7 separate regions of the Homo sapiens genome follow, and regions 2, 3, 4, 5, 6 and 7 are each linked to region 1. The links are contacts of gene promoters, found by promoter capture Hi-C in blood cells and fetal thymus (Javierre and others, 2016). All regions are on one chromosome and are shown on one strand. The core of a region is centred on a gene start or on the middle of the fragment in contact, and the rest is flanking DNA. Distances in the headings are between cores, read along the strand shown.

Region 1 (3,924 bases), core at 580-3,079:
CAGAAGGAGTAAGCCAGCCAGCCAACTATAGGGAGGGGATCCCCAGGGTCCCCATACCAGGGGAAGCTCCTTTATCACGATGGAGACAGGGATGGGGGAGGTCAGGCGAGGTGGAGCGATTATTCCTCCAGCACCCTGGCTCTTCGCCTGTTTTCCTCAGATGAAATTCTCTACATCATCCTTCCCAGTTTCAACCCCTCCCCTCTCCACCCCCGCCCCGCCCTGTGCCCATCCCTGCTGGCCACTGGGTCCATCGCCCAGGAGCCACCTCCCCTTTCTCCTCCCCTGCGGTTCTTTCTGTTTTTCGTTGGCATCTGGCCGGGCATAGCCACCACCCTCCCCCTTCACTCTCCCCACTTCCCTTTGCTCCACAGAGGTCCTGTTCCCTCTCCCCCTTCCTCCATCCCAGCCCTCCTCCTCTTCCGACAGGGCGGTGGGGGGAGGAGGATGCATTCCTTCAGTCTCTTCACAGCCTGCCCTCCCTCCTCAGGGACCTGAGGCTCGGAGCTGTGGACCCCTTCCGGGTTTCCCTACAGGCTGCCCCTCTGGCATCCCACTAACCGTTAGTAGCCTTTAAGAAAGCTGAGGTGCCCCCACAGCGCTGACCTACATAGCCCGGCCCAGGGCGGGAGGGGCTCTTCCCCAAGTCCCCTCACCCCTGGCCCCGCCTCCTTTCTCCCCCGACTCCCTTCCTTCATCTCTCTACCATTAGGAACCAGCGAAGGTTTGAGTTCCAGACTGGGGCAAAGGGGCTAGGTATGCTACCCCATCCCAAATTTGGGAAAATCAGTGCTTAGCCCAGGAAAGCTTTGGGTTTCTCATGCATCCTCCTCCCCAAATATCTTGATTCTTTCTTTTGCGCTCCCCCCTACCCCCACCCCGCCTCTGCTCCTGTCGGATTTCTTTTCCCAGCTTCTACCACTGCCAGGGATATTGCCATCCTGGGCCCCCTCCGCCCTGTGTTGTTGTTTTGCTCCAAGGATAAGGGCCCTCTTCTTTGCCCACGCCCCCTTCAGCAGCCTCACCCAGGCCCCCTTCTCTGCCCACTCGGAGCTGCGCCGCGGGTGGTGGGGGACGGGCGGGGGAGCAGAAATGTTTGCATACAGCAGTTTGGGGGATTGCACTGGCTACCCAACCCCTACAGACATACATACACAAACACCCGACACACGCCCTGACTGAAACAGCGACAAATCTCACTCCGCCCCCAACACACACTGACACAGACATACACACAGATACTGACACAGAAACGCAGAGCCAGACACCAACACAGACGCGCGCGCACACGGACAGCAACACATCCAGACCCCGGGCTGCTCCTAACGGACATCAGCCCCGAGAGCCAAACCCCGGTGCACACGCAGACACACGCTCAGTGGTGTACACAGAAGGGTGCACACACCGGCACACCCACAGTCCACAGAGACACGGATGCTCAGAGACAGACACAAGGGTATTAGCAGCGGCTGGTGACTTTAACCCCGGTTCCAAACAAAGCCAACAGGCTCCTTCCGCGAGACTCCCGATCCCAGCCCCCGCCTCGGGTCACTCCCCACCTCCCCAGGCGCCGCCCCCTCCCTCACTCACCGTCCTGGGAGAGGTTGGCCCCGCCGGGCGCCCAGCAGCAGGCGAACAGCAGGAGCAGGAGCAGGAGCGAGGCGGCTGGGGCCCCCATCGCGCTTCCCGGCCGGCTCCCTGGCTGGGCGCTGGCGAGCCTGAATCCCCGGGGGCTGGGGATGGGGAGGGGGTGGACTACGATGTTGACCGAAAGGGCGCCCCCGAGCCGCTTCGGAGCCCGGGGCCGAGGTGGGGACCGGGAGGGAGCCGGCGCTGCTGCAGTCGCGGGGATTAAATAGGGCGCTCGGAGCAAACCATTTGGTTGGAGGTGGAGGGGGTTTGGCGGGGGGCTGGGCTGGTCGCGGGGGGGCCAGGCTGCCGCATTCCCCACACCCCCCGCCTCCCACACCCCCTCCTTGCCTTCGTGGTGCCTTCCACCCTCTCCCCCGGGAGCTCGGCCAGCCGGGCTCGGGTGTGGATCAGAGGGAGGGAGCTGGCTCAGCAGTGGGACCCTGCGCTCACCCCTCTTAGGCTTGGGGTGGAGGGAGGGGAGTCGGACAGGGCCATGGGCCAGCTGGCGAGTGCAGCCACTGCAGGCCTGGGCAAGGGCGTGCTCACTAGCCTGAGGTCCTCCAGCTCCGCCCTCCATCCTTTGGCAACTGGGGATCCCCTTAAGCCCTGGGGTCCCCCACCAACCATGTACCCAGGGACATCTCTCCAGTGGATAACTACTAACTCTCAGCCTTCTCCTAAACGCTAACATCCCTAATTCCTCTTACCCAAGAGCCCATAGTTATCTGTCCAGCAACAATTTGTGGCCCCTGGCCTTAAGCCCTGGGGTCCCCCTATCAACAGTGTACCCAGGGACACCTGTCCAGTGGATAATTGCTAACTCTCATCATTTTCCTAAACCCTAACATCCCTGATTCCTCTTACCCAAGAGCCCATAGTTATCTGTCCAGCAACAATTCGTGGCCCCAGGCAATCTCCCTTGAAAGGCATTTTCCAACAAACTCCCAGGCCTTGGGAACCAATGTCTCCCTCAATCTCATGTCAAGGAAATAACTCACCCTCTGAAAACATGATTTCACCCCAGACTCTTGCCCAATCTGGCAGCCTAACAAAGCAACTCAGTCGTTTTCTTTCTTAACCCTCCCTATTACATCTCTTTAACCCCCGGTCCCTTTCTCCAATACGTTTTCTTCTTTCTTGTTCTTTTGCAGATCTCGCCCATCTCAAGTTTGAGTTAGTAAGGTTCATGGATGAAGAGTCTGATCTAGAAACCCTCCAAGGACCCCTGCGTCTGTGACCAAAGCTGCTGTCAATCCTGAGGCCAGATATAACAAGATGAGAGATGCAGGGTGTTTGTACTTGGTCTTGGCTTAAGTGTCCCAAGTCCCTGGTGTTTGCCATTCTTTGTGACTGAGTATCTCCGAGTCTTGATATATCTCAGAAAGGGATCTTTCTAAATCAGTTTTACTGAAACTTAGCTTTTGGAAATACATTTCTAAATGTTAGAATTCTAGAATAAAATGATATTAGATATCTAAGAATTCTTAGAAAATGTCTATTCCAACCCCTTAATTATATAGGTACAACTGAGGCTCAAAGGAGGCTAACTGAACCAAGGTTACACTGACAGTTAATAGTAGAAGACACAAGTGTTGGCTGGGATGTGCAACAATATGATTTTAAAGTGTCTTCCAATCCTGTGAGGCTAATATTTTATCCCTAGATGAGGGATTTGGGTGCATGTCTTCTAACTCTTAGACCAGCTCTCTTTGTCTGCTAATGACTGTCTCACTGGGCTAATCCTTAATGTTTGGGTAATCTTTCCTTCTTGAAAACAGAGTTTTTCAGCCCTCTGTGATGTAGTTAATGTCTCTGTCACCCAGAAACTCACGGGCAGGGGTGTGGAAAGTACTTGGTTACCAGTAAAGTCCTATATAAATTACAAGCAATGATGGAGAGGTCAGGGGAAATATTCCCCAGGGAAATCCTTCTGGATTGTCAGGATGCTGCCCCACAGTTTTTCTCTTAGGGTTGTTAGAGTTGATGGTTTCTGGGAGAAGAGTTCTGCCTGCCTCTTGGACATTTCTTGAGTGCCTGGATAGTTAAGATTTTCTTGCAGGGAAGTGTTGACCATCTTTGGCTGTCTGACTTGCCTGACTTGATATATCTCAGTGACTCCAGACCATTCTGTCTCCTAGGGTTTGTTGATATCTTGGAATCTCCAAAAAGTGAAAATAAAGGGGGTACTATATTTGAGGGGTGTGGAAACCTGGATGTAAGAGAGAGAAGAGGCTGGGCTAGGGAGTGGGGGAGAGATATAGGAAAGATTGAACTTTCCCACAGAGGTGGGGC
Region 2 (3,924 bases), core at 459-2,958, 800 kb before region 1:
TCTCAAGGTGCTAAGTAAATACTTGGTACATCAGAGATGAGGCATGCACGCTATCCCTAAAGAATTACAAAAATGAGATGGGGTGGTGTGAACAGTTCTCAAAAGAGTAAGTATGAGAGAATGTACCTCAACACAGTAAAATCCATATACAACAAGCCCACAGCTGATATTATACTCAATGGAGAAAAGTTGAAAGCTTTTCTTCAAATATCAGAAACACAACAAGGATGCCCACTTCCACTACTCGTTTTCAACGTAGTTCTTGAAGTCCTAGCCAGAGCAATTATTCAAGAGAAAGAAATAAAAGCCATCTTAATAGTAAAGGAAGAAGTGAAATTGTCTTCATTTGCTGATGAAATGATCTTATATATATAAAAAACTCTAAAAATCAAAAACCCTTAGAACTGATAAACAAATTCCATAAAGTTGCAGGATACAAAATCAACATATAAAAATTAGTGGCATTTCTGTATGTTAATAACAAGCTATCCAAAAAGAAAATTAAGAACGATCCCATTTACAATAGCAACAAAAGATAAAATAAAATAGTTAGATGTAAATTTAACTAAGGAGGTGAAAGACTTATATACTGAAAACTATAAAATACTAATGAAAGAAATGAATGAAAACACACATAAACGGCAAGATATTCCATGTTCATGGATTGGAAAAGTTAATACTGTTATAATGTCCATATTAACCCAAAACAATCTACAGATTCAAGGCAATCTCTATTAAAATTCCAATGCCACTCTTCGCGAAATAGAAAAACAATCCTTAAGTTCGTAGGGAACAACAAAAGACCACAAATGGCCAAAACAATTTTGAGCAAAAATAACAAAGCTGGAGGCATCACACGACCTGACTTTAAAGTATATTATAAGGAAATTGTAATCAAATACTGGCATAAAAACAGATCCATCAACCAATGGAACAGAAATAAACCAATGCATTTATAGTTGATTGATTTTTGACAAAGGTTCCAAAAGCCTACAATGAGGAAAGGACAATCTATTCAATAAATGGTGTGGGAAAACTGGTTATCCACATTCAGAAGAATGAAATTAGATCTTTATCTTACACCATGCATAAAAATCAACTCAAGGGAGGGATAGCATTAGGAGAAATAACAAATGTAAGACAAGTTGATGGGTGCAGCAAACCAACATGGCACATGTATACCTGTGTAACAAACCTGCACATTGTACACATGTACCCTAGAAGTTAAAGTATAATAAAAAAAACTCAAAACGGGAAAGACTTTAATGTAAGACTTGACACTATAAAACTACTAGAAGAAAGCATAAGGGGAAACCCTCATTACATTGGTTTGGACAAGAATTTTTTGGATTTGACTCTGACACCTCAGGTAACAAAAGCAAAAATAAACAAATGGGATTGCATAAAACTAAAAAGTTTATGCATAGCAAAACAAAAACAAAAACAAACAAAAAAACAAAAACAACAAAGTGAACAGACCCACAGAATGGGAAAAAATATTTTCAAACTATACATCTGATAAGGAGTTAAAATCCAAAATATATGAGGAATCCAAACAACTCATTAGCAAGAAAACAAGTAATGATTAAAAAATGGGCAAATGACTAGAACAGACACTTCTCAAAAGAAGGCATACAAATGGCTAACAGGTTCATTAAAAAATGCTCAGGATCAGTAATCACTAAGTAAATGCAAATTAAAACCACAATGAGGTATCACCTCACACCTGTTAGAATGGCTTTTATCAAAATGATAAAAGATAACATGTGTTGATGAAGACACAGAAAAAAGGGAACACTTGTACACTGTTAGTAGGAGTGTAAATTAGTACAGCTATTATGGAAAACAGTATGGAGGTTCCTCAAAAAACTAAAAATGTAACTTCCATATGATCCAACTATCCCACTTCTGAGAATATATCCAAAGGAATTAAAATGGCTGTGTTGAAAGGATATCCCTTTAACATGAACTCCCATGTTTATTATAGCATTATGTACAATAGCTAAGATGTGGACTCAATCTAAATGTTCATCAGTGGATAAATAGATAAAGAAAATGAGGTGTATACACACAATGGAATACTAATCAGCCTTTAGAAAGAATGAAATTCTGTCATTTTGGACAACACAAATGAATCTAGAGGATACTATGCTAAGTGAAATAAGCCAGGCACAGAAAGGTAAATACTGCATGATCTTATTTAGATGTGGAATATAAAAAAAGTTGAATTTGTAGAAGAATAATGGATCCCAGAGGCAGTGGGCAGAGGAGGAGTGAAGGAATGGGGAATTACTGGTCTGAGGGTACAAAGTTTCAGCTAAACAAGAGGAATAAGTTTTGAGATCTACTGCACAGCAGGATGACTGTAATCAATAATAATATGTTGTATATTTCAAAATAACTAAAAGTGTAATTTCAAATATATCACCACAAAAATATCAAGGAAGTGAAGTGATAGATATGTTAATTAGCTTGATTTAATCACTTGGAATTGTAGACATATATCAAAACATCACATTGTACTATATAAATGTAATATAATTATGATTTGTTAATTAAGCATAATTTATATCTTTTTAAAAAGAAACATTTTAATATGGGACTAAGGAAGGTGAATAGCCCTGGAAAAGGAGAAAATGAGATTGCCTTCTGAGTTCCAAAGTATTAAGACAATACATAGTGGATCAAAGATGAGGTATGCAAATTATCCCTAATGACACAAATAATCAAATGAAGGTACATACCTTATTAGAAAAATGAGGTGGGTGGTGTGGGCCCATTGCAAAAGGAGAGTCATAGAAGTACACACCCTGGCAGTGCCTATTCAAGTTCTGTCTGGGGACTCTGTCAGCCAGATGCAGTATCCAGGCAACCTTACAGAAGGAGCCTCGCTGGAGATGGATACCATAGATTGTCATCAGAGTGTTGAATCTTAGCTCATCTCTTTTCCTCTAGCACCATGTTCCCTAGGCAGCCTTCTGTTGACAACTCCCCAAACTGACTGTGTACAGGGAGGGAATGTCAGGGCGATGGAGCTGCAACTGGCCTATTTGATCAGAACACTCTAACCAAAGGCTTCTTGCCCCCATCCCTTGGTGTTCCTTTATCCTGCCTTGTTTTTCCTCACGGTACTTTATAAAGTGTTCTGATCAGACGGTACAGATCTGTTTGTTGTGTATTGCTTTCCCCCAACCTTGACTCTGACAATAATGTAAGCTTCGCGTTTTCCTGTTCACTGCTGTGTCCCACACCTAGAACAGTGCCTGGCATTTAATTGAAGCTTGATAAATAATTGTAGGATGAATGGCTAATTTTATATGTCAGTTTGATGACATCTCTGATAAAATGAGGCAGCATTCCAGATTCTGATCAACTCTGGGACATTGATGAGTTAGAGTTTGAGCCTGTATTGTGAAAAGTGCTGAATTAACTAAGAAAAATGGCATCGTGTGCAGACCCGTCTGGGTGGCCCAGGGCTTCCCTCAAGCCACTCCCCTCTGTTTCCTTTGTGCTTTCTTTGTGTGCCTCCAGTCTCAAATACAAATTAATAACAGCAAAGGAATACAAATACACATTATTGATGATGACAATAATAATAACACTGAGGGCTTTCTATATGCCAGGTATAGTTTTGTTACTTCTCAAATTTGTTTAATCAAGTAAAATCCTGCCAACAAGACACCGGGAGACCCGAGTTTTGGCCCCAGGTTTGCCGTTAAACTGTGACCTTGAGGGAGTCTCTCCACCACTCCGAACCTCTGGTTTTTGTTTGCTGTTTGTTTGCTTTTTAGTTTTTAATTTGTGAAATAAAGGGTTGGACAAGATCCGTAGATTCTAAACTTTTTTCTTTTAGCGAGAGCACACCATTTTCAAACAAGTTCTGCATCAGAACTCCCTGTGTGAAAAGATAAAAGCAGGCTCTCT
Region 3 (3,924 bases), core at 1,060-3,559, 760 kb before region 1:
GGCGCCTTTGGTGAGGGGTGGCTGCGTGTGTCCTCAGGGCTCACCAGTGGTTCTGTAGGTGGGCCGGGGGCTGCAAGGCCAGGCCCAGGTGGACAGCAACAGCAGCCTCATCCTGCGACCATTGACCAAGGAGGCCCACGGGCACTGGGAATGCAGTGCCAGCAATGCTGTGGCCCGAGTGGCCACCTCCACGAACGTCTACGTGCTGGGTTAGTGGCTGGAGAGAGGGCCAGGGGCTGGGAGAAACTACTTGGGAATCGTTTTTGGAGGCCCAGAAAGAGGATCATGGGTGTGGGACCCCTGGGATGATGATGGGTGAAGGTCAGTGGCCCTGGGGCCCCTGCTACTCTGTACACTCCCTCAGGCCCTGACCACCATCCCTCCATTCCCCCCTGCCTAGGCACTAGCCCTCATGTTGTCACCAATGTGTCCGTGGTGGCTTTGCCCAAGGGTGCCAATGTCTCCTGGGAGCCTGGCTTTGATGGTGGTTATCTGCAGAGATTCAGTGTCTGGTACACCCCACTGTGAGTGACCTGCTCCTGCCATTTCTCTGTGCCAATCTTGCCTCCTTTCCTCTCCTCCTTGAACCTATCTGGCCTTCTGCCCTTTCTTCTGTCCCTCTATCCCTCACCAGTCCTGGCTCTGCTTCCCTGTTTCCAGATTCTGAGGCATTCAGGGCCAAGGTCCTGAGACCTTGGATGGTTGAGCAGAGGGGAGGTGGTTAGATCTCTGGACCCCAGATCTTCTGGTCTTCCTAGCTCACGAGGTGCCCCCCATGTCCTCATGTCTCCCAGGGCCAAGCGTCCTGACCGAATGCACCATGACTGGGTGTCCTTGGCAGTGCCTGTGGGGGCTGCTCACCTCCTAGTGCCAGGGCTGCAGCCCCACACCCAGTACCAGTTCAGCGTGCTAGCTCAGAACAAGCTGGGGAGTGGTCCCTTCAGCGAAATCGTCTTGTCTGCTCCGGAAGGTGAGAAGCTTCTCGTCCCAGAACAGCAGAGACAAGGATGGGGAAGGGCTGCTGGGAGAGCTGGGATATGGGAGGCCCTGGGTGGGAAGGGGCAGAGGTGCTGGCCAGCTTGGGGTCCAGAGGGGTGTGTGGAAGATGATTTGAGCTTGTCTTCAGGGGTTCTGGGAGAAGAGTTGGGCACTGGGAGTTGTGGAAGGCCAGGGGAGGGGCGCTGGGAATCCTTGCTCTGACCTGCCTTTCTGTCCCACGCAGGGCTTCCTACCACGCCAGCTGCACCCGGGCTTCCCCCAACAGAGATACCGCCTCCCCTGTCCCCTCCGCGGGGTCTGGTGGCAGTGAGGACACCCCGGGGGGTACTCCTGCATTGGGATCCCCCAGAGCTGGTCCCTAAGAGACTGGATGGCTACGTCTTGGAAGGCCGGCAAGGCTCCCAGGGCTGGGAGGTGCTGGACCCGGCTGTGGCAGGCACAGAAACAGAGCTGCTGGTGCCAGGCCTCATCAAGGTATGTGCGAAAGGCGATACAGAGAGAGGCCTCCTAGGGGCTCTCCTGCGTCCTTCTCCATTCCCCAAACTCTATCTTCTCATCTTGATTTGAGCTCTTCACCTCTGCGTCCTACCTCACCCTTCCGTCCCACGTGCACGGTCTTTCCGCGCCCCGCTGGGTTGGGCGGTGCTGGGCCCTGACCTCCCTCCTGGTACCCCATCCCCATCGCAGGATGTTCTCTACGAGTTCCGCCTCGTGGCCTTCGCGGGCAGCTTCGTCAGCGACCCCAGCAACACGGCCAACGTCTCCACTTCCGGTGAGCACCTGGCGTGAGGGAGGAGCCCCAGGGCTGCTCCGAGTCCACTGACCCTCCCTCGTGGACCCCTGCCTAGGTCTGGAGGTCTACCCTTCGCGCACGCAGCTGCCGGGCCTCCTGCCTCAGCCCGTGCTGGCCGGCGTGGTGGGCGGAGTCTGCTTTCTGGGAGTGGCCGTCCTTGTGAGCATCCTGGCCGGCTGCCTCCTGAACCGGCGCAGGGCTGCCCGCCGCCGCCGCAAGCGCCTCCGCCAAGGTAAGTCCCTCCACCCTCAGCCCTGCTACTGCGCACTTGGGCCTAGCCTCCTTAAGCCCCTCCTACCTGGGGGAAAAGCCCTCGCTCCTGTGTGATCCAGGTGCATTCTCTTAGTCCTGCATCTGGTCCTGCCTACGCTTTTCCCAGCCGGATGGGGTTGGGCGCCTGGTGTTGGGTGAGAGAGTCTCCGCCTAGAGGGCCTTGATTTTTGCCTGTGTCACCTACTATTCTCATGCCCTTCCAGATCCACCTCTTATCTTCTCTCCGACCGGGAAGTCAGCTGCACCGTAAGTGCCTCCACCTCCTTGGCTTTCTTCTGCCTTTCCATTGTACGTGCCAGTATCTTCTGCTTCCTTTTTTGCATCTTTACCAGGGGGATGTTGGGTGTTGGGGAGGAACAAAAGTGGGAGAGGGTAAGAAGGGGTGTGCAGTGGCCCCAGCCTGAGGCCGTTCCAGTATGGCCTGTGCCTTCCCTCCACCCCTCCACCTTGTTGGTCCTTTCCTCGCTTGTTCTTCCTAGCTCTGCTCTGTTGTTCACCAAACCTCTCAAGGCCTGACGCTGGCTCCTGGGAGGGGGACCTGCCCCTACCACAGACCCTGATCTCCTGTCCTTCCCCAGCTCTGCTCTGGGCTCAGGCAGTCCTGACAGCGTGGCGAAGCTGAAGCTCCAGGGATCCCCAGTCCCCAGCCTGCGCCAGAGTCTGCTCTGGGGGGATCCTGCCGGAACTCCCAGCCCCCACCCGGATCCTCCATCTAGCCGGGGACCCTTACCTCTGGAGCCCATTTGCCGGGGCCCAGACGGGCGCTTTGTGATGGGGCCCACTGTGGCGGCCCCCCAGGAAAGGTCAGGCCGGGAGCAGGCAGAACCTCGGACTCCAGCCCAGCGTCTGGCCCGGTCCTTTGACTGTAGCAGCAGCAGCCCCAGTGGGGCACCCCAGCCCCTCTGCATTGAAGACATCAGCCCTGTGGCACCCCCTCCAGCAGCCCCACCCAGTCCCTTGCCAGGTCCTGGACCCCTGCTCCAGTACCTGAGCCTGCCCTTCTTCCGAGAGATGAATGTGGATGGGGACTGGCCCCCGCTTGAGGAGCCCAGCCCTGCTGCACCCCCAGATTACATGGATACCCGGCGCTGTCCCACCTCATCTTTCCTTCGTTCTCCAGAAACCCCTCCTGTATCCCCCAGGGAATCACTTCCTGGGGCTGTGGTAGGGGCTGGGGCCACTGCAGAGCCCCCTTACACAGCCCTGGCTGACTGGACACTGAGGGAGCGGCTGCTGCCAGGCCTTCTCCCTGCTGCCCCTCGAGGCAGCCTCACCAGCCAGAGCAGTGGGCGAGGCAGCGCTTCGTTCCTGCGGCCCCCCTCCACAGCCCCCTCTGCAGGAGGCAGCTACCTCAGCCCTGCTCCAGGAGACACCAGCAGCTGGGCCAGTGGCCCTGAGAGATGGCCCCGAAGGGAGCATGTGGTGACAGTCAGCAAGAGGTGAGAGCAGTCCCTGCCCATCCCTGCCTCCGCCTCAGTCCCACCCCAGACCTCTCACCCCTCTCCCAATACCCTGCACCTTCTCTGCTCCACTCCCACCCTGGGAACGGGAAAACTTGTCCCTTTTAGAAGCTTTTGCTGAGGTCCAGGGATTTTTCAGGGGAAACCCATGACCTAACGTGAGTTTGCGGTCGCTGAATTCAGACTTTTCTGAACAGCCTCTATTCCTCCACCCACACCATATGTTTGTCTTTTTTTTTTTTTTTACAGGAGGAACACATCTGTGGACGAGAACTATGAGTGGGACTCAGAATTCCCTGGGGACATGGAATTGCTGGAGACTTTGCACCTGGGCTTGGCCAGCTCCCGGCTCAGACCTGAAGCTGAGCCAGAGCTAGGTGTGTGAGCCCCCCGGAAAGG
Region 4 (3,924 bases), core at 919-3,418, 710 kb before region 1:
TGCAGGTTTGGGGACATAGATGATTCCTACATAATAACAATCACATAACTATCATTTAGTGAGCACCTAGTCTGTGCATAGGCTCCGTGCTAAGTGTTTTACACGTGTTATCTCTTTTAATCTTTACAATAATCCTGTGAAATGGTCACTGATGATTCAAAATATACTGGATGCTTCAATATGTGTCCAGTCAGACTAGGCTGAAAATACCTAGGATAATGCTGTACCATTGGAACTCAACCACTATTTTCCCAAGTGAATGAAGGTGGGGATGATGAGCTAATTCTGTGTAGGAGTTAGTGCACATATTTTCTGGCTGCAGCAGAGGGTTGGTAGTGGATATAATAAGAAATGAGGGTGGTGAGATGACAGAGAGCTAAGAGCAGTTGTTGGGGTGTCTTGGACATTGAGTGGAGCTGGAAGAGTGGAATGATAAGGAGTCGCCATGAATTTCTAAGCAAGAGAGGAGTATATCTTGTCTTTATCATGGAAAGGACATTGTCAAGGTGTAGCTGGGAGAGGCTGGAGACTGGCCACGGAATCAGGCACTTGGGCATGTCCACAGTCCACCGTAAGTATCTACGTATATCACAAGCCCTTACCGACCTCACGGTGGTATCTATTCTTGCAGCCAGGGCTGCCCCTGCAGAGCTAAAAGCAGAAATTGGTTGTAGAAACACCCAGAGTTCCCTGTCCTGTTATCTAGGGCAGGGTGGACAAAGGAAGCAGCTTGACAACAGCCCCGTACAACTTACAGGGACAACTCACTGGGCTTCACAGAAGTCTGGGCAGGTAGAATGAGGGCAAGGAAGGTTTTTTTTTTTTTTTTTTTTTTTTTTTTTAGATGTAGTCTTGCTCTGTCACTAGGCTGGAGTGCAGTGGTGCGATCTCAGCTCACTGCAGCAACCTCTGCCTTCCGGGTTCAAGAGATTCTCCTGCCTCAGCCTCCCGAGTAGCTGGGACTACAGGCATGCGCCACCATGCTCAGCTAATTTTTGTATTTTTAGTATAGACACTGTTTCACCATGTTGGCCTGGATTGGTTTGATCTCTTTACGTCATGATCTGCCTGCCTCAGCCTCCCAAAGTGCTGGGATTACAGGCATGAGCCACCATGCCTGGCCGGGAAGATTCTTTATAAATGTCACATTTGCCTCCAACCTGCACCATTCATCTTACGATTGCTCAAGAATGGCGTTGGGAAGCGGGCTTGGGAAGCTTTTAAGGATATACCTGTTTTTTCAGAGAGGTGGAAAGGGAGCTAATTTTGGTGGTTCATTCTTTAAGTATCTGGTAACCACTGTGGGACTGCCCAAAGCATGGTTGGCTCTTTGCCCAGGGACTAATGAGATAACCTCCACCTGCTGTACTTTACAAGACAGGCACAGGACCAGTTGTTTCTTGGCCCAGTAGCCTTGCAACTTGAAAATTGTCTATGACATAGTGGAAGGAGTGTGAAAGCCAGGGTCAGGGTACCTGTGTTCAAATCCTGTTAGGTAGTTTACTTCCTGTGCAATCTTGGGCAAGACCCTTGATCTTTCTGACCATCCGTTTCCTCATCTATAATATCTGTCTCAGGAAATGTTGTGAGGGCTCTCCAGGATAACACATAGGAAAGTGTTTTGTAAACAATAAAGCATTTTATAAATGCTAATTGTTTTATATTCATGCATTGCTAAATTCATTTTACCTTATTTATTTATTTATTTATTTATTTATTTTGAGACAAGGTCTTACTCTGTTGCCCAGGGGAATGCAGTAATGCAATCATGATTCACTGCATCCTCGACTTCCCAGGTTCAAGCAGTCCTCCTATCTCAGCTTCCCGAGTAGCTGGGACTATAGGCACATGCCACCATGCCTGGCTAATTTTTAGATTTCTAGTAGAGACAGAGTCTTTCTCTGTGGCCTAGGCTGGTCATGAACTCCTGGGCTCAAGTGGTCCTCCTGCCTCAACCTCCCAAAGTGCTAGGATTATAGGCATGAGCCACGGCACCTGGCCTTATTTTGTCCTATTTTAAAAGGAGTCAGGAAGTGGTAGGGGAGATATTGGAAAGTCTGTTGTAGGGGTTTTGTTTCTCTCTGCAAGGCTGGGGCAATGGCAACTATTCTACAAGGCCTTTCCTTCCGGCAGGCTCGAGAAGCAGAGTTTGAGGCTGAGCAGGAGAGAATCCGGAGGGAGAAAGAGAAGGAGATCGCACGCTTGAGGGCCATGCAGGAGAAGGCCCAGGATTACCAGGCAGAACAGGTACCTGCTTAGTCTCGACTTCCCTCTACTTTTCCCACTCCCTTGCCTATCCATCCCTTTGACAGCCTGTAGAATGGCCTTGAGGGTGGAGATGCGGAGGAAAGGATGCAAGTTACCTAGACTTCAGTAGTCTGAGAAGGAAGGGGTGGCCTGCTCCCAGGGCCTGTGTCAGCAGGGATTGGGCAGTGCAGCCTGTGCTTAAGGTTCAAGAGAAAGTTTTTCGCTGCTCCATAAAGAAGAACTTTCAACCTTAACCAACCAATGAAATGTGTCACCAGGGGAACCTGTGGTATCTCCATCATTAGCAGTTTTTAAAATTAGAAGCAATTTCAAGACTGCCTGGAGATGTCTGAGGTACAGGGAAAGAACTGGGATGAGTGGGTTGGAAGGACAAGATGACCCCTCAGGTTATCTTCTAACCCAAAGGTTTGATGACAGGATTCCATTTATCTTTTCCTAGAATAACTAGCTGCCAGAGAAATTCATGATGCTTTTCAAAGCAGACTGTCAGAGTCTGTAAGTAGGTATCTTCTTAAAGCCACTTGGTCTGTACTTCCAGCTATTTTGTGCCCTCACTGGTCCCCTGCCAACATTCCCAGGATGCCTTGCGGGCCAAGCGCAACCAGGAGGTTGCAGACAGAGAGTGGCGCAGAAAGGAAAAGGAAAATGCGCGGAAGAAGATGGAAACAGAGGCTGAGCTGCGAAAAAGTCGGCTCGAACAGGTGGCTTTCAAGGAGCACGCTCTGGCTGTTCAGGTGCAACGGGACCGGGATGAGTTCGAGAGGATTCTTCGGTAGGAGGGGCCTGGGAACCTTGGATTCCTTTCCTTGTACTGTAGCAGGGATGGTCCATATTGGATAGAGAGAAGCTTTCTGGCATGTTAACAGATGCTCGTCGATCTTGTCTGGGTTGGTGGGATCATTATAACTAGATGGATGATTGAAACTTTTAAAAATCACTTGAGCCAAGAATTATGTGATTAGAGAATTGGGAGATAGCACCTGGAATTGCTTAAGGAATTGGTGATGACTGGGATTATTTACCCTGGAACAGTAAAAGTATAAATAAAGGTAAAATTCTGGTCCATTCTGCTGCCCTCTGACCCATGTGCCCCTGCAAATTGGGGATGAAACTGCAAGAGGAGTGGTTTAGGAAAGATAGAGAAAAGAACTTCAGACACTAAGGGTTGTGAGTCACTGGAGCAGGACTTTAAGGGAGCTGTTTGCCGTTCATTTGACAAATATATATTAAGCACAGAAATGCAGGGCTCTGTGCTGGATGCCATGGAGGACATTAGCAATTAACAAAACACTGCTCTTGCCCATTCCACAGGAAAGGTATTAGAGATTTGTGTTTGGATGGACTGCACCTACATCAATCCATCTTTCTTCCTTGGTAGCTATTTATCCTTTTACTTTTGTTTTCCCTTTTGGCTCAATGATAATTTCAACACATAAGTGGAAGCTAAATGTTCACATCTCTCACTGTTCTGCTCCCTCCCCAAAAGCAGTCAACAGTCACAGCTCCCATTGGTTTCCCTCTCTGCTCTGTTTTCCACCAGTCAGACCTGGTCCCTGGGGCTGTTCTCCTGGTCTAACTGGGAATGACTCTCTTTTTGCTCTGGTTCAGACTCTACAACATTAGAATTTTTCAAAAGGAAACAAGCCAAGCAAAATT
Region 5 (3,924 bases), core at 759-3,258, 660 kb before region 1:
GTGTATGGGAGACGCTTCTCCTTGAAGTGCCCCCCTGACTCCTTTGCTGACTAATTTCTGCCCACTCTTGTAGCATCACTGCCTCCTCCGACCTCCCCTATCCCTCATAGGTAATGTAACCAAGAGAGGTTACATATTCTCTCTTGTGTTCTCACAGTGGCCTGGGGCCACCATGCTGACTACCCTTATCCCTCTATTCTTATTGCCTGTTTATGAGTCAGCATCTCCCACTAGACCGTGAGCTCTTTCTCCCCATCGTTTGCTTCCAGTGCCCACCACTGTTTAAGAACAGACTGTGGGAGAAGCCTAGTAAATGGTATTGAATAAATGACCTACCCTGCTGAGGACTGACCCTATGCCTGTCGCTGGCACAGGGTGTAGGGAAGAATAAGAGGTGATGAAGTTTTGGTCAATGAGACATGATCTGGATGGTTGCTCAGTCGGCCATGATAATTCCGGTCCCCCTCTGCCTCACTGTCCTCCAGGCCCAACAACCTCCTCTCACACTGGAGATGACTTCAGTGTTAATGCAGAGCAGGAATGTAACACACAAAGAGAATTGCACTGGATGTCAGCCAAGACCTAGCTGCTCCTACCTGCTCCTCCTGGTGCTGCCACAGATCAGCTGTGTGCCCTTCCACACATCACCCTGCCCCAGGCTTCAGTACCACTGAAAAATAAGGGGTCTGTACCAGGTCAGTCACACAGATCTTTGATCATTAAGGGCCATTTGAAAAATTATTTTTGGGCTGGGTGTGGTGGCTCATGCCTGTAATTCCAGCACTTTGGGAGGCTGAGGAGGGCGGATCACTTGAGGTCAGGAGTTTGAGACCAGCCTGGTCAACATGATGAAACCCTGTCTCTACTAAAAATACAAACATTAGCCGGGTTTAGTGGCAGTGACCTGTAATCCCAGCTACTCAGGAGGCTGAGACAGGAGAATCGCTTGAACCCAGGAGGCAGAGGTTACAGTGAGCTGAGATGCACCATTGCATTCCAGCCTGGGTGACAGAGCAAGACTCCGTCTCAAAGAAAAAAAAAAAAGGCAAATTATTTTTGTCTCACCAAACAGACCAAGGCCTTTTTTGAGGTTAAGGTGTGATTTCCTGCACATGTTTAGAAATATTGAAGAAATCTGCAGGCTTTGGAGCTCTCAGGGCCAGGAACTCAGGCAAGGAGATGAAACAAAGCAACCCAAAGTCCCTATGAGCCTCTGATGTAAACAATATCATCTTAATCTTTGCTGCACCCCATAAACCCTCATCCATGGCCCGGCAGTGTTGACCCATGTCATGTTGGCTGCTTGTTGACCAAGGAAGGGAACTCAGGCATCAGATGGATAGAGGGATCGCCCGGTGTGGAGGAGACCCCGTGTATCAGCCATCCCAACATCACACCACCGTCGGCCACCCCTAAGTCCACGTGGGCCACATTTAGCCTCTCTCATCCCTACTTAGTACTTGCCTCCCCTTATAAAGGCCTGTAGGGAGGGACCTCAGCTCCCCCACAGGCTGTTGAAAACACACTCTGCTGATTGTGGGGAACCCTGCTCTGCCCTGCCCTCTGCTACTCTCCTCAAACTCTGCAGAGTTTCTGCATGCTAACACTGCCGGGTCCTCACCATTCTCACAGCCGACTTTCTCTCCAAACCAGCAGTATCACCCACTGGCTCCGTTTTTACTGCTCTGGGCCACAAAACAGCTCATGTCTCACAGATAAGAATACCCCTCAAGCTGCCACCTCCTCCCTCCCAGGACCCTGCATCTCTTTGTATCTGCCTAGCTTAAAATGTTGCCCAAGAGCTTGTTCTAGTCTTTCCTACCCACCCTCAGCTTCTGGGTTCTCACCCAGGTCGAGGGATCCCTGCCCAGACGTCTGGCATAGGCAGCTGGGGAGGGGCCTTCAGCTCTCCGAGGACAGGCTATCTGCCTGCCCCACTTACCTTCCCAGAGAAGCAGACTCCACAGGGGCCTCATGACCATCTTTCTCTGGAGAGGCAGGCAAACTCCCTCGACAGCCAAAATCCAGAACCTCCCAGGCCGAGTGGATGCACGGGAGGAGCTGTGGTCCTTCTGGAAAGTCCCATGTTCAGAAGGAGGAATCTTGACTCAGAACAGGATGTCCCAAAAGTGAAAACATCCAGAATAAAGTGGAAGTTGTCCCTGGGCCTCTCTGGGCTTACAGGAGCAGATTCTTGTAAGTCAGCCTCTTTCACATGCACATGGTTGGCTAACACGTGGCGACAACAGCCCCCACACAAGCCACATCCTCCTTGCTGGATCTCGCTGGCCTTCCTGCATCTCAGCCTGCCTCACTACTATCTGTCATCCTCATTCTAGCTTAAAATGCTTCTGTGGCCTCCCGTGGACCTGAGGATGAGGACTAACTCTGCTCTGCATGCAGGCCCTCCTGAGTCAGGCCTTCTTCTCCAGGCTGGTCGCCCACAGTCATTCTGCCCTCCAGCCATCCCAAGCCAGAAGGCCTCCTTCTCAGAACTACTGATTTCACACTTCCCTGTGTTGTACTTTCCCCACCACCCCGACTAGGCATGCTGCTCCCTCTATCCTTGCAAACAGAACATGGCTGTGCAGTCGGCGAGGACATCCTTCCAGGCTTCCTGACCACAGGCAGGTGAGAGGCCCTCTCCTTGTGTCCTGTGCATGCCCACACCTCCCTCTTTACTCTTGCTGTGTTGTTGATGACAGTTTTCTGGTTTTCACAGACTGTTTAGCCAGTCTTTTGTTCCCTTCTGTGTTGCCCTCAGTGCTTGGCACATTACAGATGTTTCATGAGTATTTGTTAAGTGAGTGAGTACATTCTAGACATGGCTACACATCTGGCTTTATGTAAGCCTTGCAACTCTCCTCTGAGAGGATCATCTTGTTACCTGGTTAGAAATGGGAAAATGTGAAAACCAGAGTGAGGTTAGGCCCCTTGCAGAGCTCACAGAGAGGCAGAGCTGGAACTTGAACCTCAGCCTTTGAAGTGTGGTCTATTTTGCCACAGTTATCCCCTCCTCATCCTGTTTCTCTTCTCACTTCAAGTTTCTTGGTTTCTTGCCAGTGAAGGTTTTTAGAGGACGTGTTGCCCCTGAGGAAAATTCCTGCTAGTCTGGAGTGTGGCTCATCGTATCTGGTCCTGCACAGCCTCTCGCCTGTCAATCAAACTGGACACTGAGCTTTGGACTCAGCCAGGAACTAGGCATATAGGATGGGGTGGGGGTGGGTGGTGAGCAGGAGGATTTTGGGATAAGGTTTTTGCCCTCCAGGTACTCACAACCAAAATGTAGAGATAGGTACACCAAGGAAAGTGAAGGGTTATCTGCAGACAGACACCACTTTGTGCAAACAGGTAGTCAGTCCTCAGAAGTGGGTGGGAAAGAGGGCTTCGCGGATCTGGGCAGGGGACGCTTCTTGAGAAGGTGGAATTTGAGCTGTGCCTTGAAGATGGGCATGGTTTAGATAATATGAGGAAAGGAGAGAGCCAGAGGTTGGGGGTGGGCTCTGGGCAGGAGGGGAGAGCAGAGCGTGCAGGGATGTGGCTGTGGGAAAATACCAAGTAGGCTCCACAGAGGACAAGGGACAGCAGACAGGAATCCTTTAGGGCTGGGTGGGAAGAATGGAAAAGGAGGTTGGGGGCAGATTGTGGAGGCCTTGAAAACTGGGTTAAGTTCTTCTGGAGACTAGTGGCTCTCAACTGTGTTCAGCACTTGGATTCTCAGAGATGCCATCAGGGTGAGCTAGGGCCCAGGAATCTGTGGTTGTAACAAGCACCCCACTCAGCGTGAGTCTGTGGCTGGTGGACTGGGGGACCGCTCCGGAAGCACTGCTTGAAGAGAGGGGCTGTTGCATGTTTTAAGTAGGAGTGGGAGGACAGCAGGCAGGGCAGGTTGGAGAGAACAAAGGGGCCAGGGAACCTGAACAA
Region 6 (3,924 bases), core at 667-3,166, 630 kb before region 1:
CTCCTCCTTCCTTTCCTTCTTCTCTCCTTCCTCTTCCCTCTTTCTCTTTATTCCTTTCCCTTCCCCTCCCCTTCTTTCCTCTCCCTGTGTCTTCTCTCTGGCTTTCCTCCCACCCACCCTCCTTGTCTTCTTTTATATTGCACTTTCCTGTCTGCCTTGCCAAGCTTGGCTTAATTGCATTCATTCTGTTCATTGTCTTGCCTCATTCCTCCTGACTCAATTCCCTCCAGCCTAGATTGGCTTCTCCTCCTGTGGCTACCTAATGTGACACTTTCTGCAGCCTTCACTTCTGATAATAGCAGCATCTGTGTCCACCAGAAAGCAGCTGGTGGGGCATGTTGGAGGTGCCACAGCCTGAGTTCTCTCCCTCCTGTCTTCCTCATTGGGCTTCCTTAGGCCCAGCCTCCATCTCTACCCTCAGCAGGGCGTTTCATCTTCCACCACTCTTATGGAAGGGATCTGTTCTCTCTGTCTCTATTCCTAAAATGTATTCTGTGCACTGATGTGAGCAGGAGAAGAGCTCCCAGGGATCCACCATCACCTGCAGGGCAGGCTGAGCCTGTCCCCAGTCTGTATCTGTCCCCAGCCTGTATCTGTCCCCAGCCTGTATCATCTCTTTGATAAGCCAGACACCCCCATTCCCAGACAGCCTTCTGAGCAGGCCTGATGGCCTGAGACTAATGAGGAGTAACAGTTAGGGAGCCCCAGCACATCCTGCTCTTGCCTGGATCTTCTGGATCCTTAGGACCCACTCTCCTCACCCTGGAAGTAACGATGCTCACCGCATTACCGAACAGCAGGTCTTGCTTCCACTACTGCTTTTTCTAACAGCACTAAGTATTGGTTTGAATTATCTCCCCCTGGAATCACAGAATATGTCCTTGGAGGTCAAGATTTCATAGATCAGAATTTTTTCCTGTTTGACAGAAAGCTCCATGGAGGTCAGTGTCACAGAATGGGCTGGAGGGAAGGGGATCTGAGGAAGGAAGGAAGACTGATCAGCAGAAAAAGGTGCCTGCTGCTTCTCTGAACATAAAAGGAAGGAAGGGAGTCCCAGTCTTGTTGAGTTGAGAATATAAGAGCTCCAGAACCACTTGAAGAGAAGACAGAGGCCACAGACACTTTTAAGGGTATAAGATAGAGGCCTAGAGTCCCACTGCTGAGGCTTGTGTCACCCTAGGACTACCCTTGGCCTTAGACTAGTGGAGTTCCAAGTTCCTCCTTTTCCTAGGAACTGGCCAAGACTCCTGAGGAAGGGGCCTAGTCTGGTGCTGCTCTGCAGATGTTTCTGGGGGACCCCATGGCACTGTCCTGTTCCCATCCAGTAAGTTTTGGCCCATAGACATACTTTGAATTAGAAGAGACATGGACACAACTTACCAGTTTTCCCAACACAGGGAACTGCAAGAGAACAAAGTAACACAATTAGGTTAAGTAGCAAAAAGAGCTTTCTGACAAGGAGGCCTGTCACTTCAGCAATGGGGACTTACACCCATTCAACCAACCACCCGGCCACCAAACCTCCTAGCCACCCATCCACACAGCCATCCAACCATCCAACCACATAACCACTCAACCACCAAACAACCCAGCCATCAGCCATCCAACCACCCAACCATCCAACCATCCAACCACCCAACCACCCAACCACCCGGCCACTTGACTACTCAACGTTTGTGCTGGACGTACTCCCTAGAACTCTTTGCCCTATCACAGTTCAAATGTTGCCTTCTCAAACAGGTCTTCCCTGGGACTCCAATCAAAAGAATTTTCCCCAATCACTAAAACAATGCCCCATTGTATTATCTTCAAAACACTTATCACTATTTGAATTTATCTTATTCATTAAATTGCCTACATGTTATCACCTCTCTCTCTGGCTAGAATATAAGCTCCATAGTAGCAGGGACTCTGCTTATTTTACTCATTGCTATATTTTCTATGCCCAAGACCTGTGCCTGGAACATAGTCTGTGTTCAGTAAGCATCTGCTGAATAAATGCATGAATGTTTTCCTTTGCATCCCATTGTACGAGGTGGGAAGCAAAAAGTAGAAAACATAGGACTAGACTCTTGTACGAATGTGCCTGAGGGTCCTACCTCCAACATCTACAGGAGAACCCATATAGCAAGGGCAGGACCTGATTCTTGTGGTCCCATCTCTCCACAGAGCTCTGGCAAAAAGGGTATGGAAGTGACCAGACTGAGGAGGATAAGTCCCCTGAAAGAGTAATCATTAAAGGATGTGAGACATTATCAGGCAGCATGGATGAATGAGAGAACTACAAACAAACTGGATGCATCCCACATCATGCTTGCATCTTGGATGTGCTACATTCATGTTTTTAAATGAGTGAATGTGTGAGAACAGGTGACCTGGGAAGAGGGGCCAACTCACAAAATGATGACAGATATGGTTAGATAGGTTTGAATAGCCCAAACAATGGAAGACCTGAAATTGAAGGTCATAGCTGGATATGAAGCAGTGAAGAATCTTCTGGACTTTGGGGCAAGGTGTGAAACAATGAATGAATGTAGGGCTGAGTGCAGTCAGTCCAGCCAATCCTCATACATTTACTTGTGTCCTGCATTGCTGGCATGTCCTAGGTATTTTACATAACACCAAAAAAAAAATGCAAGAATGGCCTTGGGAAGGGTGGGTGAAAACCCTCTAAGAGCAGATGTTTGGCTCTGTCACATGGTATCATCTTTGCTTTCTACACTACTTTGGACACAGGTGGAATCTTTCAGCTCAATTCTCTATTCAGCTCAGGGTCAGCTCAGTCATATGCTCTCAAGAGTGTGCAGAACAATGAGTCTCTTCTTTATCATCCCTCCATCTCCACCCCTAACCCCCATCTATGAGCTCGGTGTAGTGGAAAGCATGCAGGATTTGGAATCAGATGACCTGGACTTGAGTCATGAATTTGCCTCTTTCTGTACGACCTTGAACAAGTTGTCTAAGTTCCAAGAGCCTTCAATATCTCATTCTGTCATATCACATAATAGAAATGATAATAGTCATTTTTTTCTTACAGTGTAGTTGTGAAGGTTATGTTGACCCACTGCCTGGGAAAGTGGTTACTACATTAACTGAAAGCAGAAAGAAGGCCTGACCTCAGAGTGACAGAGACCTTACTCTGTAGTTATGTCTTCCTTCCCTTCCCCACCTCACTGGAAAACAATTGTGCAGCTACAAAGTGCTAAACAAACAGGGTTGAGACTACTGAAGCCAAAAACAAGACAGAAGGCACTCAGGAAGCATAGATGCACTTAAAATGAGCTCCTGTCCCCAAATCTCAATGACTTGCTCCCCATGGTACTGCAAGATCTTGGAGGTGGGATTACAAAATTGGTTTCTGCAATCAAAACAGCAGCCAACTGGGAACATACACAGGGGGTGACACCTGCTTACAGCAGTTCCTGCAATGAGGGCCCAGGGACCTCCATTAGCTATAGGCTGAAGATGAGGTGACAGTATCATGAAGTGGCCAAGAGCTATGGTCAAACCAAGTTGCGTAATAGAATTCCGAAAAATGAAGGCAGGAGCCCCTGCCAACTCTAGGAGCAGGATAATTTCCTCTTAAAGTTTCTGAGGGATCGGGAGATATTTATCTGGGAAAGATGCAACAGAGGAAAGACACAAAATACTTGGTGGGCTAAGCTTAAAAGAAGGGGGAGACTTATTCTGAGTTACTTTATAGGACAGAAATGGAAACTAGAGGGATCATGGAGGCAGATTTCGGCTCAACATGAAGAACTCTCTCACCACTGAGCTCTAGCACTGTGGAACAGGCTGCAGTGCCAAGCTGCAGCAGTCACATTGCTGGGAGGGCTGTATGGGACCCCATGACACCTCCTATGGACGCTGTGTGAGAATGCGGGGAGCAGCCTCCAGTGGTAGGAGGGAAGTTGGCTAATGTTC
Region 7 (3,924 bases), core at 863-3,362, 590 kb before region 1:
GAGAAGGAAATAAAGGGTATTCAATTAGGAAAAGAGGAAGTCAAATTGTCCCTGTTTGCAGACGACATGATTGTATATCTAGAAAACCCCATTGTCTCAGCCCAAAATCTCCTTAAGCTGATAAGCAACTTCAGCAAAGTCTCAGGATACAAAATCAATGTACAAAAATCACAAGCATTCTTATACACCAACAACAGACAAACAGAGAGCCAAATCATGAGTGAACTCCCATTCACAATTGCTTCAGAGAGAATAAAATACCTAGGAATCCAACTTACAAGGGATGTGAAGGACCTCTTCAAGGAGAACTACAAACCACTGCTCAAGGAGATAAAAGAGGATACAAACAAATGGAAGAACATTCCATGCTCATGGGTAGGAAGAATCAATATCGTGAAAATGGCCATACTGCCCAAGGTAATTTACAGATTCAATGCCATCCCCATCAAGCTACCAATGCCTTTCTTCACAGAATTGGAAAAAACTACTTTAAAGTTCATATGGAACCAAAAAAGAGCCTGCATTGCCAAGTCAATCCTAAGCCAAAAGAACAAAGCTGGAGGCATCACACTACCTGACTTATTTTTTAAATTTTTAATGACCAAAACAAAACATCTAAAACCACAGCTTTTGGAAGAGCCACTTGTTCTTGCCCAGGTTTTACCTCTCTTTGATTTTGACTTTGGCCTTCCTTTGGGCCTTGTGTTTAAGAGCAGGGTCTCTGAAGACATCCTTGTTGATGACAGTTTTGTCCAAGGGGGTATCCACAGAGTGCCTTGTGGGCATGAGATGATTGTAGTTATAAACTTTCACAAAAGACTTGGTCTTTGACCTCTGGGTGCTCTTCTTGCCCATGGCAGCTGTCACCTTGCAAGGATAACAGTCAATTCCAGCCACCAGAGAACAGCTGACGGGGCATTCTAAGGTGCCATCATCAATGTTCTTCACGATGATGGTTTTGCATCCAGAGTAGCATCCGGTGTAGTGTCTGGCCTGGACCAACACTACTTTCCCAGGTTTTATGAACTTGCCCATTTTGACAGCAACCACCCAGGCCTACCTTCGTCTTATTTAAGGGAAGTGAATCTACCTCCTACTTGGTTGATTTTTAAGGCATATGGACTATCTTTTTTTAGCAACACAGATTTTATGCAGTTCATAGTCTTGTCAAATGTTACAGTTTGGACATCTCTTTTGCCCAATTCCTACCAAAAGCTTAATTAGAAGACTTAGCAGTTCTAATTGACAGCTGAATATATAGTTTTTTTTTCTTTTTAGAGACAAGGTCTTGCTCCGTCACCAGGTTGGAGTGCAGTGACATGATCGTAGCTCACTGTAACCTTGAATTTGTGGGCTCAAGTAATGCTCCCTACACCTCAGCCTCTATTAAGGATATATTGTTCTTTCATTATCCTAGGTAACTGTTGCTCGATAGAACTTTCTGCATTGATGGAAATGTTCTGTAATTGTGTGTCCGTCGTTAATAGTCACTAGCCATGTGTGGCTATTGAGCATTTGAAATGTGGCTGTTAAAACAAAATAATGGTACTGAAAATGTTTTATTTAATTTTAATGAAGTTTAAATAGCCACTCACGCCAGTGGCTTCCATATTGAACAGCACAACTCTGTAATTCTAAATTTTATCCCTGAATCAAGCTGAAGTATTTCTTCTTTGGCTTTCCAAAGAATAGCATTTATTGAATAGCAAATTTCTATTTTTTCCTTAATCATGGTTTTAAAACATATTCTCACTTTCTTGGATCTCACTCCCGCATCAAAAGATGGAGACTAAAATACCCTTCCCTTGGATATAGGTTGGTCTTCGTGGCTTGATTCTAGCAAATAGGATGTGTTAGAAGTGATACTATGTGATTTTTGAGGCTAGCTCATAAAAGGTGCTAAAGTTGGCTTGGTTGTCTCCCTCTCAGCACTTGAGCTTTCATGTAAGAGTTCTAGCTGCTCTAACACTGCCATGCTGGAGTCACATGGAGGGACCTCGAGAGGTATCTGAAGAGGACCAACTGTTCTAGCCTCCAGCTGTTTGAATCTTCCTAACTTAGGCTCCAGGTTACTTCGGACCCAGTCACTTTGTGACTACATTTCTGTAAGAGACTGTAAGTGAGAATTGCTTAGCTTAGCCCCTCTATCCCCAGTAAGATAATAATATACAATGCTGTCACTTTAAGCCACTATTTTGGTGTTGTGCAGCGATAGATAACTGGAACACTCTTGTAAAAGAATACTGCAGGAAATAGTTCTATGAAACTTTCTGGCATATTCATTGTTGGGATTTTTGAGTACAAAGTTTACTACATCAATTTCTTTTGAATTTAGTAACAGGAAAATCTGTATTTTCTTGAGCAATCAATAGACTTTTACTTTAATACATTTTTGCTTTGGTTGCTATGAAGCTCAAAGCTAAATTTATGTCCTACTTCGTAAGTAAATAGGACCATCAATAATTTATTTCTGTGTGTTTGCTTTTTATTTGGCCTTATCTTACTGTTTTTTAAAAATTTACCTTTTTCCTTTTTAAAGACCTTAATACAGTATATATTTTGTCAAGCCATTTCCAAAAGTGAATGCAAATAATATTGGGCTTTTGCTGAACCAGTGTGAGCTGTAAGATCATCCAGTAGATTAGCAATGATGGCTGAGAGAGCTCTGGAATTTTATAACTCTTCAATGACCTTATTTTATAGGAAGACAATAAGGCTCTGAAAACTGAAGTGACTGCTGAAGTATACACAGCTAGTGAGCAGCAAAATCTCAGCCCAGGAGAAGCTGTGTCTTACTCCTCATTCACCCATATAGCACCCATTGGTCAGATACTGATTCTTTATTAACTGTCAGCTCTGGGTCTGGTTACTTGAGGATGGGATGGTGGTACAAAGATAAATAAGAGTCAGCAGAGGAATTGAATCTCCAGATTATGCCTGGTGGGACATAGTACATGTGTTTAAATATAAAGTAATATGTAACATAAAAGCGGCACAAGTGAAGCTTTTTGAATGTTCAGAGGAATGAGAGATCACTTCCAACTGGGCAATCACAAAAGCTTCAGGAAAAAGTGATGTTGAGTTAGGCCCGGAAGGATGGACATGCTTCACACGTGCAGGTATTAGGAGAGATGATGGGGTGAAGCAAGAGAAGATTAGCTGCCGTGAGTTGAATACTGGGAATTTTAGGCCCTGTGGCATTTGGTGGGGATGATATTTTGAGCAGGGGGATTGTGCCACATCTCAAATTACACCAGGCAAGTAGTTGCTTACTATTCTGTTTATGGGATCAACGCTGCCAAGGGCATGCTACCTGCAAATGTGGATGGGAAGGATGAGAGAGAGAGAGAGAGAGAGAGATAGAGAGAGAGAGAGAGAGAAAGAATGCTAACTGAAGCTTCTACATAGCTGACTGCTCAGAAAACCCAACACATGGAGCTATGTTCTGAAGTAATTGCCTAAAACCTTTATCAACAAATAGTTTTTAGACTTTGGTATGGAGGAGAAAATTCTGGAAGAGAATCTACAACATTTCACAACACTGCAAACAGGGGGCATTTCAGGACATCCCTGAGGAACACAGCAGCATGCTCAACTTCCTCTTAGATGGCCTTGCATTTCTTACAGCCTCCTTGTGACCACAGGAGCCTGGTGATCCATGGAGCAGTAAGCCCAGCAAAGCCTAAGAGTGGGGCTCTGGAGGGACAGGTCTGTTGTTCTTTGTAGAGATTGATGGATTTGTTACAATTAGTAATAGGTGGCTTTCCTGAAATTCTGCAATTACCTCTTGAAATAGGGAAACCTCTGATCACATGGGTAGGATATTGCTAAAGAGGTGAAAACTTACTTGGGCCATTTAAACAGGTTCCTGCCAGTTTCCTATAAATGAAAGTTTAAATAATCCTCCTTTCTCAGTTAGGAAGA

The links. Contacts are between HindIII fragments. The CHiCAGO score rates a contact against its expected background, and 5 or more counts as called.
Region 2: a contact is called between a fragment that was not itself captured here and the fragment with the promoter of CADM3 in region 1, in 2 of 17 cell types (naive CD8 T cells and endothelial precursors). The highest score is 5.2, in naive CD8 T cells.
Region 3: a fragment that was not itself captured here is called in contact with the fragment with the promoter of CADM3 in region 1 in 1 of 17 cell types (endothelial precursors); the score reaches 7.8 in endothelial precursors.
Region 4: a contact is called between a fragment that was not itself captured here and the fragment with the promoter of CADM3 in region 1, in 1 of 17 cell types (endothelial precursors). The highest score is 5.2, in endothelial precursors.
Region 5: the fragment with the promoter of SLAMF8 here is called in contact with the fragment with the promoter of CADM3 in region 1 in 2 of 17 cell types (endothelial precursors and M2 macrophages); the score reaches 5.7 in endothelial precursors.
Region 6: a fragment that was not itself captured here is called in contact with the fragment with the promoter of CADM3 in region 1 in 5 of 17 cell types (endothelial precursors, megakaryocytes, erythroblasts and 2 more); the score reaches 9.9 in endothelial precursors.
Region 7: a fragment that was not itself captured here is called in contact with the fragment with the promoter of CADM3 in region 1 in 3 of 17 cell types (M2 macrophages, megakaryocytes and endothelial precursors); the score reaches 8.4 in M2 macrophages.

What each region holds. Positions count from the first base shown.
Region 1 is chr1:159,169,520-159,173,443 of GRCh38, reverse strand. It overlaps CADM3 (cell adhesion molecule 3), which reads right to left and starts at 1,829. Exons shown (of 9, transcript NM_001127173.3): 1 at 1,591-1,829. The coding sequence starts at 1,678. RefSeq lists an enhancer at 2,192-2,692. The HindIII fragment of the contact is 6,448 bases long and covers 810-3,924 here.
Region 2 is chr1:159,964,466-159,968,389 of GRCh38, reverse strand. The region is part of intron 1 of LINC01133 (long intergenic non-protein coding RNA 1133); the gene reads right to left. It also overlaps a transcript of SLAMF9 not described here. Among named protein-coding and RNA genes, the nearest start is that of LINC01133, 5.2 kb to the right of the region's middle. The HindIII fragment of the contact is 3,020 bases long and covers 199-3,218 here.
Region 3 is chr1:159,927,738-159,931,661 of GRCh38, reverse strand. IGSF9 (immunoglobulin superfamily member 9) reads left to right here. Exons shown (of 21, transcript NM_001135050.2): 12 at 59-209; 13 at 401-524; 14 at 795-970; 15 at 1,223-1,473; 16 at 1,687-1,771; 17 at 1,848-2,024; 18 at 2,269-2,311; 19 at 2,644-3,504; 20 at 3,775-3,902. Among named protein-coding and RNA genes, the nearest start is that of TAGLN2, 4.2 kb to the right of the region's middle. The HindIII fragment of the contact is 2,658 bases long and covers 981-3,638 here.
Region 4 is chr1:159,875,672-159,879,595 of GRCh38, reverse strand. CFAP45 (cilia and flagella associated protein 45) reads left to right here. Exons shown (of 12, transcript NM_012337.3): 9 at 2,134-2,247; 10 at 2,847-3,040. Among named protein-coding and RNA genes, the nearest start is that of VSIG8, 15 kb to the right of the region's middle. The HindIII fragment of the contact is 1,898 bases long and covers 1,220-3,117 here.
Region 5 is chr1:159,824,957-159,828,880 of GRCh38, reverse strand. SLAMF8 (SLAM family member 8) reads right to left here and starts at 2,008. Exons shown (of 5, transcript NM_020125.3): 1 at 1,943-2,008. The coding sequence starts at 1,982. The HindIII fragment of the contact is 24,464 bases long and covers 1-3,924 here.
Region 6 is chr1:159,804,073-159,807,996 of GRCh38, reverse strand. It overlaps FCRL6 (Fc receptor like 6), which reads right to left. Exons shown (of 10, transcript NM_001004310.3): 2 at 1,381-1,401. LOC105371464 (a long non-coding RNA gene) reads left to right here and starts at 967. Exons shown (of 3, transcript XR_922195.2): 1 at 967-3,924. The HindIII fragment of the contact is 3,499 bases long and covers 167-3,665 here.
Region 7 is chr1:159,756,281-159,760,204 of GRCh38, reverse strand. It overlaps the pseudogene RPL27P2. Among named protein-coding and RNA genes, the nearest start is that of DUSP23, 23 kb to the left of the region's middle. The HindIII fragment of the contact is 1,789 bases long and covers 1,218-3,006 here.